2 separate regions of the Homo sapiens genome follow, and region 1 is linked to region 2. Evidence: promoter capture Hi-C in human tissues and cell types (Jung and others, 2019). All regions are on one chromosome and are shown on one strand. Each heading gives the region's core, a stretch centred on a gene start or on the middle of the fragment in contact. The rest is flanking DNA. Distances are from core to core; before and after follow the strand shown.

Region 1 (7,572 bases), core at 3,595-6,094, 660 kb before region 2:
ATCTTGTTATGCCAAAAATTAAGAAAGTGCTCCAAAAAATGATGAGGGCATCTCATAAGGACACAAGCTTGAAAGGGCCCCCACTGGATCACTCAGAGCACAAATGTCATTAAGGATGGTAATAAATGATAAGTCATTGAAAAAAAAACAGGTATCTGCAAGTTCATGAAAGACACGGGAAAAAAAGAAGGAAGGCTCTTGTTTAGAATAAAATGCAAAGTGTTAACTGGTAAACCTAGGAGTGTTACTGTTAGAAATCTTACTTTTCAACAACCATATTATAAACCGGTTCAAGAATCATCAATGGATGCTAAATATGGGTGGAAATTTTGCTAAGGAGTAGGATATGTACATGGTGTTAAAGTGTCTCCCCCACATATTGCCTATAAGCCACAAGGGGTAAAAAACAATGACTATAGGATACAGAATTCAGACAACACCCAACTAGGTAATCAAAATCAGTATCATCAACAAAGAGCAGATGACTCTGTGTACCTCTGGATGTACAGAATCCTAAGCCAGGAATACAAAACCTGAATCTAATCACAAGGAAACATCAGACAAACCCAAAATGAGAAAATTATATTAAAAAAAAGTAAGAGTGGAAGGAACTGCGTTTTTCAAAATCATCAATCTCAGCTGGGCGCAGTGGCTCACACCTGTAATCCCAGAACTTTGCTCAGGAGTTCGAGACCAGCCTGGGCAACACCTGTCTCTAGAAAAAGTTAGCCAGGCGTGGGGGCTCACACCTGTAGTCCCAGCTACTCAGGAGCCTGAGGCAGGAGGATTGCTTGAGCCTGGGAAGCAGAGGTTGCAGTAAGCCACCACTGCACTCCAGCCTGGGTGGCAGAGCAAGACCCTGTCTCCAAATAGTAAAAAAAAAAAAAAAAAAAAAAAAGTCAGTCTCACACAAGACAAAGAAAAGCTGTGGAAATGTGCCCTAAGTAAAGAGACGTGACAACTAACGGTAATATCTGGTCCAAGTCTGGATTCTGCACTGAGGAAAAATATGACCCTGCAGAGAGGAAATGGCTTAGAAGAAATATTTAGATGCCTTTACAACTCTGATTCCAAGGTTCTAAAGAGAATTCAGCCAGATTCAACATAATCAAAACACTGCTTCAGAGCAGTAGTAAGCAAACTATGAGCAAAGAACTCAATCTAATTGAATCAAAACCATCAAGTGAGAAGTTACTAAAATTCTCCATTTCAGGAAGTTTCAGCCAACGATGTGATCCATATCCTGTTTTCCTTACTCAAATCTAGCCTACAAAGTTACACACACACACACACACACACACACACACACACACACACAGTTAGCAAGAGACTAAAATGTAACATCAGTGGGACTAATATAATGCAAAAGAAATTTAAGAAATTTTGACATTTTACCACTATAGCTGGAAGATCTCAAACCCTGATTACTAAACACTGTTTTCAAAATGTGTGATTTCCATCATCATAAACATAATGCACCATTATAAATATTTTCCTTCAAAGTGACAATCATTTAAAGATTACTAACCCTAAAGATTGCTATCTGTCTTAAGCATGCTTGTCATTTAGTATTCTTTATCAGATTAAAATACTCAGTTCTGAAAAACAACGATAAAGAATATCCCAATGGTTGACGGTGAGAAGTATCTATGGATTCAGATTAGTTGAGTTCAATTTCTGGCTCCGCAATTTAGCATCTGAGGGTCCAAGGGCAAGATTGGTCATTTCTCAGTGCTTCAGTTTTCCAGTCTATAAAACAGTACAAACACCTCATACAGGTGAATGTACACCTCACAGGATTACAATGACTAAATGATATATTTGTATTAGCACATAGAAAGTGCTCAATAAATGTTGGTTATTATGTTTTACATACACTTGAAGAGGAGTCATATACTCACACTTATTAGGATGGCTATTATCAAAAAAAGAAAGGAAAAAAATTAAGTATCGGCAAGGATGTGGAGAAACTGGAAATCCTGTGTGCTGCTGGTGAGACTGTAAAATGCTGCAATCACTATGGAAAACATTATGGTGGGCCCTCAAAAAATTAAAAATGTAACTGCCGTATGATCCCACAATCCTATTTCTGGGTAAATATCCAAAAGAACTGAAAGCAGGGTCTTGAAGAAATATTTGCACACTCACATTCCTAACAGCATTATTCACAACAGCCAGGAGGAGGAAGCAACCCAACTGTCCATCAATGGATGGCTAGATAAAATGCGGTATATACATACAACGGAATATTATTCAGCCTGAAAAAGGAAGAAAATCCTGTCAACAACTACAACATGAATGAACCTTGCGGACTCTACACTGAGTGAAATAAGCCAGTCGCAAAAAGACAAATACTTCTATGAGGTTTCTAACATGATCAAATTCACTGAAACAGAAAGCAGCACGTTGGTCACAAGGGGCTGGGAAGTGAGAGGAAAGGGGAGCAGTTGTTTATTCGGTATAGGATTTCAGTTTTGCAAGACGAAAGTGTTCTGAAGATTTGTTTCACAACAATATGAATACATTTCACACTCCTGAACTGTACATTTAAAGATGGTGAAGATGGCAAAGGGGTCATACTTTTGAAACTAGTATCTACAAATAAAGATAGGGTAATGTCCTTTTATAAGGGCTAGTGAAACTATTAGATTTTAATAGAGTGGCAACAAATGAACTGGTAACTAAACTCATAAATGGACAGTATTATTACATAATCCACTTTCATTCTGAAATCTCTGCAGAAATAAAACACTGCATTAGAATAAGCTTATTTATTGCAGACAAAATATACAAATCACATGACTCAACTTACTCAAGTCTCTAAAGCCAGCCTAATCTTGGGCCCCAGTTTTTCTCATGCACAAGGAAAGCAGATGAGTTCTCTGATCCCGTAAGAAATAACTGCAGGGGTTTAGACTGGTATGAAGTCTCTATGGACTAGCAGTGTCATCTCAGATCCCACACACCTTAGAATCATGAATGAACTGAAACCACTATGGACCTGAATACCTGGGCTCTGATTATAATCAAACCATATCCCGTCTACTCAAAAAATTTTCAAACTTAAGCACAAAAAACTGGAATACAAAAGCAAGTTTTCAAATTGCTCTCACCTAAATCACAGAGTGAAATTAAGCAGACTTTATCTTCCTTTATACAAAAATAATCACCAGGTATGTTTTGGGAGTAAATTTTAAACAAATGTGCAGTTCATGGACTTTTGTTAAGATACAACTTTAAATATTTAGCTCTAAAGAAACAATACATCAGCTGAAATTCAAAATTAGTAAAAACTTTTCTGCTTTCAATAATTTTTAAATCTTTAAGCCATCCTTCAAAGATACTACCAAGTATCTATCAGCACTAGACCAATGATTTCTATATTACATTGCGAGTATCAATTATAAAATGCACTATTTCATGTGTCAGAACACAGAAACACTGTCAATTAAAAATGACATATACCAGATATTGAAATATTTAACAGTTGGTATTTTAGAACAAATATAATACAGTACGTACATGCTTGTCCCTCTGAATAATCCAAAAGTACAGGAACCTAATCTATGTATCAACTACAGGGGGGGACACCAAACCCCTAGAGACTCAAACTTTTTTAAATGCATGAAAAGTCAATATAAACTACCAGTTCAAAGAATCAATCAATAAATGATCAATGCAGACTGAAAATCCAAAGACACTTGGCACCCCAAACAGATAACTAGATAACTCACTGCGGCCTAAACAAGTGATTTCCAAATTAAGGAAGTGAAAAATCTAAGCACTCAATGACTCCAAACAGCTCAGGTGGCCAAGACCCCTGTTCTCCTTTAATCCAGTGGTCCACAGGTACCAACTCAGAAGACAGAGTGCCACTTACTGAGAGAAAAAACCTTTCAGTAAGTGGCACTCTGTCTTCTGAGTCGGATTTTTCTGCAAACACTATGGACACAATGAACTGGTTTAGCTTAGGGCAGTTTACAAGCTTAAAGTACATTTATGACACTGTTTCAAAACAATGGTAGAGTTGCAAAATACAAAGAAAATCTTATCAGACTAAACATTTTCAGACTAAGTATTAAAAGTTATTCAGGAAACACAAGAGAATGTATTTATTCCGTAGTATCAACAATTATAGCATGGAAACACACAGAACCTCTATTAAACGTTATCTATTTCAAAACTCCTAAAATCTATTACTTGTCTTACACCAAAATGTGATATAGTACCACATCCTATAGAACATTAAATATAAGTAAATTTAAATGTCAAAGTAAATTCACAACCAATGAAATTAGAAGATTCACAAATATAAACTTAGTAATTAGGAAGCTAACTCTAGGCCAGACGCGGTGGCTCACGCCTGTAATCCCAACATTTTGGGAGGCCGAGGTGGGTGGATCACGAGGTCAGGAGATCGAGACCATCCTGGCTTACACAGTGAAACCCCGTCTTTACTAAAAATACAATACAAAAAATAAAAAATTAGCCGGACGTGGTGGTGGGCACCTTTGGTCCCAGCTACTCAGGAGGCTGAGGCAGGAGAATGGCGTGAACCTGGCAGGCGGAGCTTGCAGTGAGCGGAGATCTCGCCACTGCACTCCAGCCTGGGTGACAGAGTGAGACTCTGCCTCAAAAAAAAAAAAAAAAAAAAAGAGAAGAAAGCTAACTCTATCAAAGTTCAATTGTACGTAAGAATAGACACATTCAAAACAGGCAAGGCAGAATAGGTCAAAAATGTCTCTGAACACAGCAAACCCATCCCCAATCTAGACAGAAATATAAATGTAGATTCTGTTATTTCACTAACGATTTAATTTTCTTAAGTTACAGCCATCACACAAAGAAAAGTCTGCAGTCTATCTATCTGCCTATCTATACATATATGTATATATATATCTCTATACTGTTGCGAAAAAACATACTTTTTTTGCAACAGTAACTGCACCAAATTACTAGGCTCAATGTTGATTTAGAAAACAAATAACTAAAAAATGCTTTTTGCTGTTTTTCCAGAGGAATCCAATTTGATCATCCATTCGGACCTTAAACCTCAGAAATTCAAATGTGTAAAAAATGTCCATCAATGTAAACAAAAATGGCAAAATGTGAATTTCTGGAGCTGGGTAACAGTTAAAAGGCAGTTCATTACACTGTGCTATGTATCCTTATGTTTTTAAAAGTCTATTAAAATGTTACATTTTTCAAAATTGTTCAGGTGCATCAAGTGGTCTTTACAAAAATCTTTCATTCTAAAACCGTAGAGAGCATCCATTTATCAATAATGTACCTGACAGGACACACTGACTTGAAAGTAGTCTTCAAATCACACCAACAATTATTCTATCAACAGATAGATGTAAGGCCATATCTGACTGGAAGTTACTGAAGAAATAAATGTAATATAATTAAGTATATGTCTTCTTATGTTAAAATGTTATATAGTTGATAACTAAAACAAAAAAAAAAAACTTCATTCTTAGAATTGGAAGAGACAAACTTTCTAGTTCGGTGGTTTGCAAACTTTTTGAGGTACCTGGACAAAAGAGCCAGACAAGTCACCTTGTTTTATACATAGGAGATTATACACAAAATATGAGATGATGCTTTTAAAAATGATTTATCTACTTAAAAAAGGCTTTAAACCCATTCTGTCATTTCAACAGCTACATTCTACAGCTAATATGGTGGCATAGAAAAGATTAAATGACTTGGGATATATCATTCAATTAGTGGCAAAAGAACTCAGGACTCTTATTTTTCCAGTTCTTTCAAACAATGCACCACTTCAAATTAAGTTACAATTAAGAATAAAACTTTCCATTTTCTTGCCTGTAAAATACGGTTACTAGACAAGATCATCTCTAAGATTATTTTCCAGGTCTAAAATTCTGACTCCATGAATGCCAAGCTCAAACAGAAATCTACATTAAGGGAATGAATGTTCTTCAACACAGCAGAACCCTTCACACGCTTTCAATGACTTCAGAGACATGCCAGTCAAATACAGAAACAAGCTCACAGTAACTCAGTCATACCTTTTAGGTCCTTAAACATCTGTGCAACATCTTTTAATAGTTAATGCTATTAAGATGTGAAACAATGTTCTCAAAAGCCACTGAAATAATCCTGAAAGTTTTTTGGTTACTAGTTATTTTAAGAAAGGACACTGGCCTATGAAAAACACACAACTCACTGAAGATGTTCAAGTTACCGAATGCCTCAGAGAATTAAGTACATCATTTTCTTAAGTTTAAAATAAATGAATTGAGAGGAGCATAAAGCCTAGCTGGCATAATAGTTACGAAGTTTTAATTCCCACCTATTAAAGCCTGAAAGAGGTTGCTCTGAAATATGTTAATAACCCGTTCTATGGAACTTCTGAGCTGTCTGTCTTCAGTTTGGCTTAGTTTTGAACGATATTCCTCCAAAAGGTGCAATGCTCTCTGGGTATCTGAGAAGAAAAAGCAGAGCCTGATTAAAACTCTCTATTTACAAAAAAAGTATCACATACTAGTGCAAATAATTCTGCATGACATCTAAATAGTTCCGCAAATCCTTCAGGTCAATTGATGTCACTATGTTCATGTACACATATTCCTTAGAATGACCAAAAAATAAAAAAAAAAATTAAAGAAATACAAGAAAAATTTAAACATATATCACATTAGAAAACGGAGGAGAGTGAGCAGTTTGGAATAAATGTGTACTGGTAGTTTGCCAAAGTAAAAGATCAAAGTATTAGCAACAGTTTCAGATTACCTGATAATGCAAAAGCAGATTATCTACAATTTGTCATCATAATCCAAATTTTTAACATTTCAAAATACAAATTCTTAGTATCCCACAGTTGCTTACAGAATAGTGCTTAGTAAGAATGATAGAGTGAAATACTAAAACACCAATTCAGGGTTATTAAGGACATCTGTTGGGGGGGGGCTAACTGCCTCTCTTAATCACTAGAGAAATGTTAAGAAAGTTTAACAAACATTTTCGTGTTTCCATCTTCTGAAATGATATGAGGCTTAGATTCCCTAAGCAATAAAGCTAGGACCGTGCTGTCTCATCAAAGTTACACAAACGATTCTAAAACGGCAATCAAAAAACTGACACACGGAAAAGCAAGTGACATCGACAACAGAGTTACGGAATAAACTCTCACCTTGCTTCCGGACCGGCATTTTTCTCCAGAATCAGGAAGAGGGCACACACCTTTAAAACACACAACGGAAAGGAAAAAGGATAGAATCATGTTAAACTAGCATTTTCCCCTATCGAAATAGAAAACCCTCGCAGCCTATTTGAAAACCCCACGTTCCAAAGTTTTACCAAGTCAAAGAAAGAGTCTCAAAACGCAGCAGTTGTCTGTCAACGTGGAAAGCTTTTCCTTGGAGTGGGTACCCCTCCAAATTAAGAACAGACAGAAGTCGGCTTCCAAACTCTCCTCGAAAGCGTCCCCTCCCCAAAGAGCCTAGACCTGAGGCCGCCTCTTCCCCCGCACAAGTATCCACACTCCCCACCTGCTACTGGGTACGGGCGGGTGAAGCGCTCCGACCCTTGGCCCCTGAGCCA
Region 2 (7,028 bases), core at 505-3,004:
GACAACTGTTCCATGAAAGCAGCAACATGACAACGATGCTCACAGTTGTATCAGGTGCTAAGTCTCAGTGCTCAATAAGTATTTGTGGAACGAATAATACACGAGCAAACGAATGAAACTCACACTTAATGTGTTATTCCTCCCAGGAGGACTTCCATATAGAACTTTGACAAATCAATATCTAATAGTGAAATTTCTAGCACATTTCTTTCTGGGACAGGGAACACTGGGTGGGGTAGTAGGCTACAAGGTACAAGTTCTATCCTGTTGTATTTAAGAGAGGATCTGATTTTAAAAGTGACTTATATACATCTATTTCATACAACTTCGGAGTCATACTTTACTCTCTCTCATTCCTCATCCACCAGCAAATCTTGCCAGAATTTAAATATATTCAGAATTCCAGTACTCAATATCCTCTGTTTACACACCATCACCTCTCATCATAGTCACTACAGGAACCTATAATTATCTTCCTGCTGATACCCTTGCCTCCCTTCACTTTCAACACAGTGACTTTGTCAATATAGAAGTCAGATAGAGTCACCCTTCTGTTCAGGACCCTTAAATAGTTCCCATCTCAAAGCAGGGGAAGCCTCTTTTACATACTTCCCATCTCAAAGTGGGGAAAGCCTCTTTTACAGTGGCCTCTCTGCTTAATTTTCTTCACAGAAATTATCATCTTCTAACGTGTCATCTATTTTTACTTGCTCATTGTGTTGCTCCGCCTCGTAGGATATAAGCTCCACGAGGGCATAGATTTGTTTACTGCCGTGTCATCTTACACAAACCTTGGTACAGGGTAGTCATTCATTAAACTATGTGTTAAATAAATGAATGAATCCATAGGATAACCCAAATAAATATGCAATAATTCGGAAATGTGAATCTCTGGCGTCCACTAATCCACCTCTACAAGTATCTACGGAGGACCTACTAGGTGCGGACACGAGGCAGCTAAACGAGTTCTCCTAAAAGGGCGATAAAGCCTCCTGCAGGCAGTCCTCCTCATACCTCGGATCCAAAAAGAAGAATGGAGGTAAGAACTTAAGTCATTTCATTCATTTTTTTTTTCTTTTGTAGAGGTTGGGGGAGGTGGTCTCACTATGTTGCCCAGGCTGGTCTCGAACTCCTGGCCTCAAGCGATCCTCCCGCCTCGGCTTCCCAAAGAGCTGGGTTTACAGGCGTGAGCCACTGTGCCCAGTCTCATTTCTTGAAAGAGATAAATAAGTAGAGGGGAGAAAAGAAGTATAGAAAAAGAAAAAAGAGAAGGAAGAGGTCCTGCTGCCTTCGTGCTCCCGGCCTTTCTCTTCCATGCTAGATTAGGATCCCAGAATTTCCGTTCTGTCTATTGCTGTGTGTATCGAGAGAAAAGCACCCCACTGTTGGCAAATCAATCTTACAGTCAATCATTCTTTAGGCAGCGGGAACATCCTCCACTCAGGGTTCGCCTTTCCACCTACGGCGTCCGGGGACGCAGGAAGTAAACTAAGTTGTTTCTATGGCAACGCACAGCTTTGGCGGATTTAGCTGGCTACCATTTTGCCTTCCCTTGTTCCCAAGTAGTACATTTTGCAGCCTACCAAGATGAAAGGACTTAGGAAAATAATTGTAAGAGTGCTATTGAATGTGGCTTATTTCAGTGCGAAGCCGATTTCCGAGGATTGTTTTTCTGGCGTTTGGAGAAGATGCCTAAATTGAGGGCGGAGTCGAAAGATGTTTAATCCCACAAGGCCACGCGGCGGGGCCTCGTCCTTCTCTTACCGCCATCTTGGCTCCTGTGGAGGTGAGTGAAGGGTCTGCTGCTGAAATTTGGGGGCAAATAACCGGAGTAGGTTTGTTCCTGTGCCTTGGCGAGTCGCCGGTGCGTATCGGAGTCTCTGCCAGCCATTGATTTCTACGGGTTTCAAGAAGAGGGAGAACAGGATGGAGGAGATGTTGGGCTGATGGTGTTTGGTCCCCTGACACCCGGAGAACGGCTGCCCGGGTTATCCCAGTTAAATTCCTGGGCCTGAACGGAGTGAAACGATGTTTTTGTTCGTGTGCAGTTGTCCATGAGGCAGTGCTTCCTTCATCCGTTTCCTCCCAGTCCATACCTTCCTTGGCTTGTCTGACCAGTCTCTTTCCTCAGCTTTTCTCCCCCAGCCATTGCATAAAAGTCTTACGTGTGTGTTTCTCTTTAAGGCTTCATTTCTTTTCCTGAGTGTTGCCTACTGATAACGGCATGCATTTTCTCAGGCTTTTCTGAGAGTCATTTTTGTGACTCCTGTCCCTTAGTTTTGTCTTCATTCTGAAGTTTGCTTAGATACCAGCTGTTCTCTGAGGTTTGAATGTCTTGCCGGACCCTGCGTTTCATATGGATGTTCTGGCATTGTTGTCCCCGAACTCCTACATGAAACTCCCATCCAAAAGGAATTTGCTTTAGGGGCTTAAACGAGAGGGGACGAGGTGGGAAACTTGTGTGGCTTGGTTTTAAACTAATCTTTTTGTTTGTTTTAAGGCCTGCTGGGAACGGGACTTCTAAAAGGAACTATGTCTGGAAGGTACGCGTTTTAAATATAGTTCTTTATTTTTGTGTGTTAGACGTGAACGTAAATGCGAGCTTAAAATTGGCAAGAAAAAACTTAGATGTTTGCTCTGAGTAACTTTTGGGTGGGGGTGATTACAAGTCAGATTGGTTTTTTGAAGCTTATGTTTCATGTTGTGTATCTTTTGTGTCTTAGGCTGTGGTCCAAGGCCATTTTTGCTGGCTATAAGCGGGGTCTCCGGAACCAAAGGGAGCACACAGCTCTTCTTAAAATTGAAGGTGTTTACGCCCGAGATGAAACAGAATTCTATTTGGGCAAGAGATGCGCTTATGTATATAAAGCAAAGAAGTAAGTTTATGACACTGGTAGGTTTTGGGTTTTTGAGATCTGCCTCATTTTCTTTTTTATATAACGGAGTCTTGCTCTGTTGCCGAGGCTGGAATGCAGTGACTTGGTCTCCCTCACCGAAACCTCCGCCTCCCGGGTTCAAGCAAGTGTCCTGTCTCAGCCTCCCGAGTAGCTGGGATTACAGGCGCCGGCCACCACGCCCGGCTAGTTTTTGTATTATTAGTAGAGACAGGGTATTGCCATGTTGGCCAGGCTGGTCCCAAACTCCTGACCTTAGGTGATCCGCCCACCTCGGCCTCCCAAAGTGCTGAGATTACAGGCTTGAGCCACCGCGCCTGGCCTCATTATCCTATTGAAATAATAAACAAAAGATTTAGCTGAAGTACTTGGTATTGTTTTTTTGTTTTTGTGACAAGAGTCTCTGTTGCCCAGGTTGGAGGGCAGTAGCGCGATCTTGGCTCGCTGCAGCCTCTGCCTCCTGGCTCAAGCGATTCTCCTGCCTCAGCCTCCTGAGTAGCTGGGCTTACAGGGGTGTGCCACCACGCCCGGCTAATTTTTGTATTTTTACTAGAGAATGGGTTTCCCCATGTTGGCCAGGCTGGATTGGTATTGCTGTGGCTTCTATTTTGCGTCATTAAGGAACTTAATGGGGAGTTTTAGAAGGACGTTACTTCTGAGGGTGGTGTTGGATTTAGGTACCTTTTGCACTTGTAAGCAATAAAGGAGGTAATTCCTTATATTGTGATCCTTTTAAGGTTTCTAATTTTTTTTCTCGGCTCCTTTTGCCAGAATTTAAGGATTTTTAGAACACTTGTGCTTAATGCATTTTGTTAATGCCTTAAAATTATGGGTTTTTTTTTTTTTTTTTTTTTTTTTTGGAGACGGAGTCTCACTGTCACCTAGGCTGGAGTGCAGTAGCACAATATCGGCTCACCGCAACCTCCGCCTCCCGGGTTCAAGGGATTCTCCTGCCTTAGCCTCCTGAGTAGCTGGGATTACAGGCGGCCGCCACCATGCCTGTCTAATTTTTGTATATTTAGTAGAGATGGGGTTTCACCATTTTGGCCAGGCTGGTCTTAAACTCCTGAACTTGTGATCCACCCACCTCAGCCTCCCAAAGTGCTGGGATTACAGGCAGGAGCCACGGTGCCCCGCCCCTTGTTTTTTCTTTTCTTTCTTTTCTTTTTTTCTTTCTTTTTTGAGACAGAGTTTTGCTCTTGTTATCCAGGCTAAAGTGCAATGGCACAATCTCAGCTCACTGTAATCTCTGCTTCCCGGGTTCAAGCGATTATCCTGCCTCAGCCTCCGAGTGAGGTGGGATTACAGGCGTGTGCCACCACACCCAGCTAATTTTATGTTTTTAGTAGAAACGGGGTTTCACAGTGTTGGTCACTCTGGTCTTGAACTCCTGACCTCAAGTAATCCACCTGCCTCGGCCTCCCAGAGTGCTGGGATTATAGCGCAAGTCACTGCACCAGGCCAAAATTAGTTTTTATGCATGCCTAAAGATGTTTATGCTGTAGACTTTTTTTTTTTTTTGAGACAAAGTGTTGCTCTGTTGCCCAGGCTGGAGTGCAGTGGTGTGATCTCAGCTCACTGCAACCTCAGCTTCCCCAGTAGCTGGGATTACAGGCGCGCACCACCACACCCGGCTAACTTTTGTATTTTTAGTAGAGACAGGGTTTCACCATGTTGGCCAGGCTGGTCTCGAACTCCTGACCTCGTGATCCACCCGCCCCAGCCTCCCAAAGTGCTGGGATTACAGGCGTGAGCCATCGTGCCATTGCACCTTAGCCTGGACAACAAGAGCAAATCCTATTGTCTTCACCCACTCCAAGCCAATTAAAATCTCTGGGAAAGTGTTTTAATCATTGCCCCACCTTTTCTTCTACAGCCAATGTGTTCCTTTAAAATTTTAAGTCAGGTGCAGTGGCTCACACTTGTAGCCCCAGCATTTGAGAGCCCTAGGTGGGAGGATTGCTTGATGCCAGGAGATAGAGGCTGCAGTGAGCTATGATTGGGCCACTGTACTGCAGCCTGGGTGACAAGACAACCCCGTGGTCTTTAAAGGAAATATATATAAAGTCATATCCTTTGTACATTGCTCGAACCACAGTAGTTTCTCTCATTCAGTAAAAGCCCGTCATTAAGAGCTCCATAATTCTCTTTATCTCAGCTGGGATTAACCCCTTGGTGTCTTCAGTCTTTCTTCCGGCCAGGACACACACTCCTTGGCCCCAGTGCCTGCGCTAGTCATCCCGTGATCACTTCATGGCATTTCCCCTCCCTTTCCAGTCTTTGTTCCATGGTCACCTCAGTGAGACCTTCCTTGGCTATTTAAAATGGCAGGTAATTCCTCCTTTCTGTACACACAAATATCCTCACACTTGTCCTTTTTTGCTATTTTTTCAATATTGCCTCTGTTATCATCTGACCTATGTATTTTCCTTAAACTTACTTGGTTATCATGTGAAAGATTTTTGTTTTATAGCTGCTGTATTTTACAGAAGGGCCTGGCATACAATAGTTACTCGATAAGTATCTGTTGAATGAATGGTGTTCTAGGCATTTAAAGTTTCTCAGGTGATGAAGTGGGTAACCAGGGTTGAGAGCCACTCGTGTAGAGGTCACCTTGAATTTGTATCCAACTATATCAGCTTGTATTCCTCTTCTTTCCCTTTTTAAAATCAGCAACACAGTCACTCCTGGCGGCAAACCAAACAAAACCAGAGTCATCTGGGGAAAAGTAACTCGGGCCCATGGAAACAGTGGCATGGTTCGTGCCAAATTCCGAAGCAATCTTCCTGCTAAGGCCATTGGACACAGAATCCGAGTGGTGAGTATGGTTTTTAGCAAAATGGACGTCTGATGAATCAGACTAGGTTCAAGGTGTTGTGCTTTGACTTCTGAGGACTTCTGTGGTTGTGAAATTGACACCAGTAAATTATGCTGCAAAATTTGTGTATTGCAGAACACTGGAGAGATAGTAATTGAAAGAATTAGGTGTTTGGTTGTTTGTTTTTTGTTTTTTTTTTGGGGGGAGACAGGGTCTCACTTTGTCACCCAGGCTGGGGTGCAGTGGCATAATCACAGCTTATTGCAGCCTCGACCTCCTGGGTTCAAGCAATCCTTCCACCTCAGCCCCCCAAGTAGCTGGGACCATAGGCGTGTGCCACCACACCCAGCTAATTTTTGGGGTTTTTGTTGTGTTTTTTTGAGACAAGGTCTCACTTTGTCACGCAGGCTGGAGTGCAGTGGCATGATCTCAGCTTGCTGCTACCTTTGCCTCCAAAGTTCATGTGATTCTTGTGCCTCAGCCTCCCGAGTAGCTGGAATTACAGGCGTATATACCACCATGCCCAGATAATTTTTTGTATTTTTGTATTTTGTTTCTCCATGTTGCCCAGGCTGGTCTTGAACTCCTGAGCCCAAGTGATCTGCCCACCTTGGCCTCCCAGAGTGCTGGGATTATATGCTTGAGCCACCACAGCCAGCCTTGAATAAATAGTTTTCTGGTGAAGATATTTATTGGGCACTGAAGTAATTGTTAGAAAGCAACAATTCAACAGTTACGCCTGGCATAATTGTTAATATTTTGCCATTTCCATCATGTCAGTCTTGTTAGAACAGGTGTTAGTAGCTTTATTTTGTACATGAAGAAAACAGACTCTCATGTTCCTAGGTCTCAGGTCTTTGGTGCCAGCCTTGGACTCTAAATTTTTCTCAATTTTCTCCTGTAATTTTTCTCAAATAGTTCGTACTTTTTCTTTAGGGTCCATTTTGGAATGTAGACTGTATATTCTTGGGACCAAGAATATATGCATACCATGTATTCTTGGGGCCAGGGGGTACTGTTGAACCCTGCTAAGTGGTTCATTAGGGTTTATCAACAGAGGAGGCTTTTACTCTGTCTTTAGAAGAAGCAAAATTAAATGTACCTTCAGTACATGTTTTTCTTTTTCTTTTTTTTTTTTTGAGACCAGAGTCTCATTCTGTCACCAGGCTGGAGTGCAGTGGTGGGATCTTGCCTCACTGCAAGCTCCCAGGTTCAAGCGATTCTCCTGCCTCAGCCTCCTGCGTAGCTGGGACTATAGGCACGTACCACCATGCCCAGCTGATTTTTGTATTTTTTAGTAGAGACAGGGTTTTACC

What was found. The method cuts DNA at HindIII sites, captures the fragments that hold promoters and counts their contacts. A contact is called where the count stands out against the background at its distance.
Region 1: a fragment that was not itself captured here is called in contact with the fragment with the promoter of RPL35A in region 2 in 1 of the 25 tissues and cell types used here (hippocampus).

What each region holds. Positions count from the first base shown.
Region 1 is chr3:197,290,024-197,297,595 of GRCh38, forward strand. It overlaps DLG1 (discs large MAGUK scaffold protein 1), which reads right to left. Exons shown (of 25, transcript NM_001366207.1): 2 at 7,163-7,212; 3 at 6,323-6,454. The coding sequence starts at 7,181. MIR4797 (microRNA 4797) reads right to left here and starts at 3,925; the gene lies at 3,855-3,925. RefSeq lists a silencer at 7,516-7,572. The HindIII fragment of the contact is 6,857 bases long and covers 1,417-7,572 here.
Region 2 is chr3:197,948,436-197,955,463 of GRCh38, forward strand. It overlaps RPL35A (ribosomal protein L35a), which reads left to right and starts at 1,755. Exons shown (of 5, transcript NM_000996.4): 1 at 1,755-1,786; 2 at 2,501-2,543; 3 at 2,724-2,876; 4 at 5,568-5,712. The coding sequence starts at 2,533. The region is part of intron 2 of DRC9 (dynein regulatory complex subunit 9); the gene reads right to left. RefSeq lists enhancers at 1,158-1,377, 1,457-2,239, 3,023-3,804. The HindIII fragment of the contact is 11,846 bases long and covers 1-7,028 here.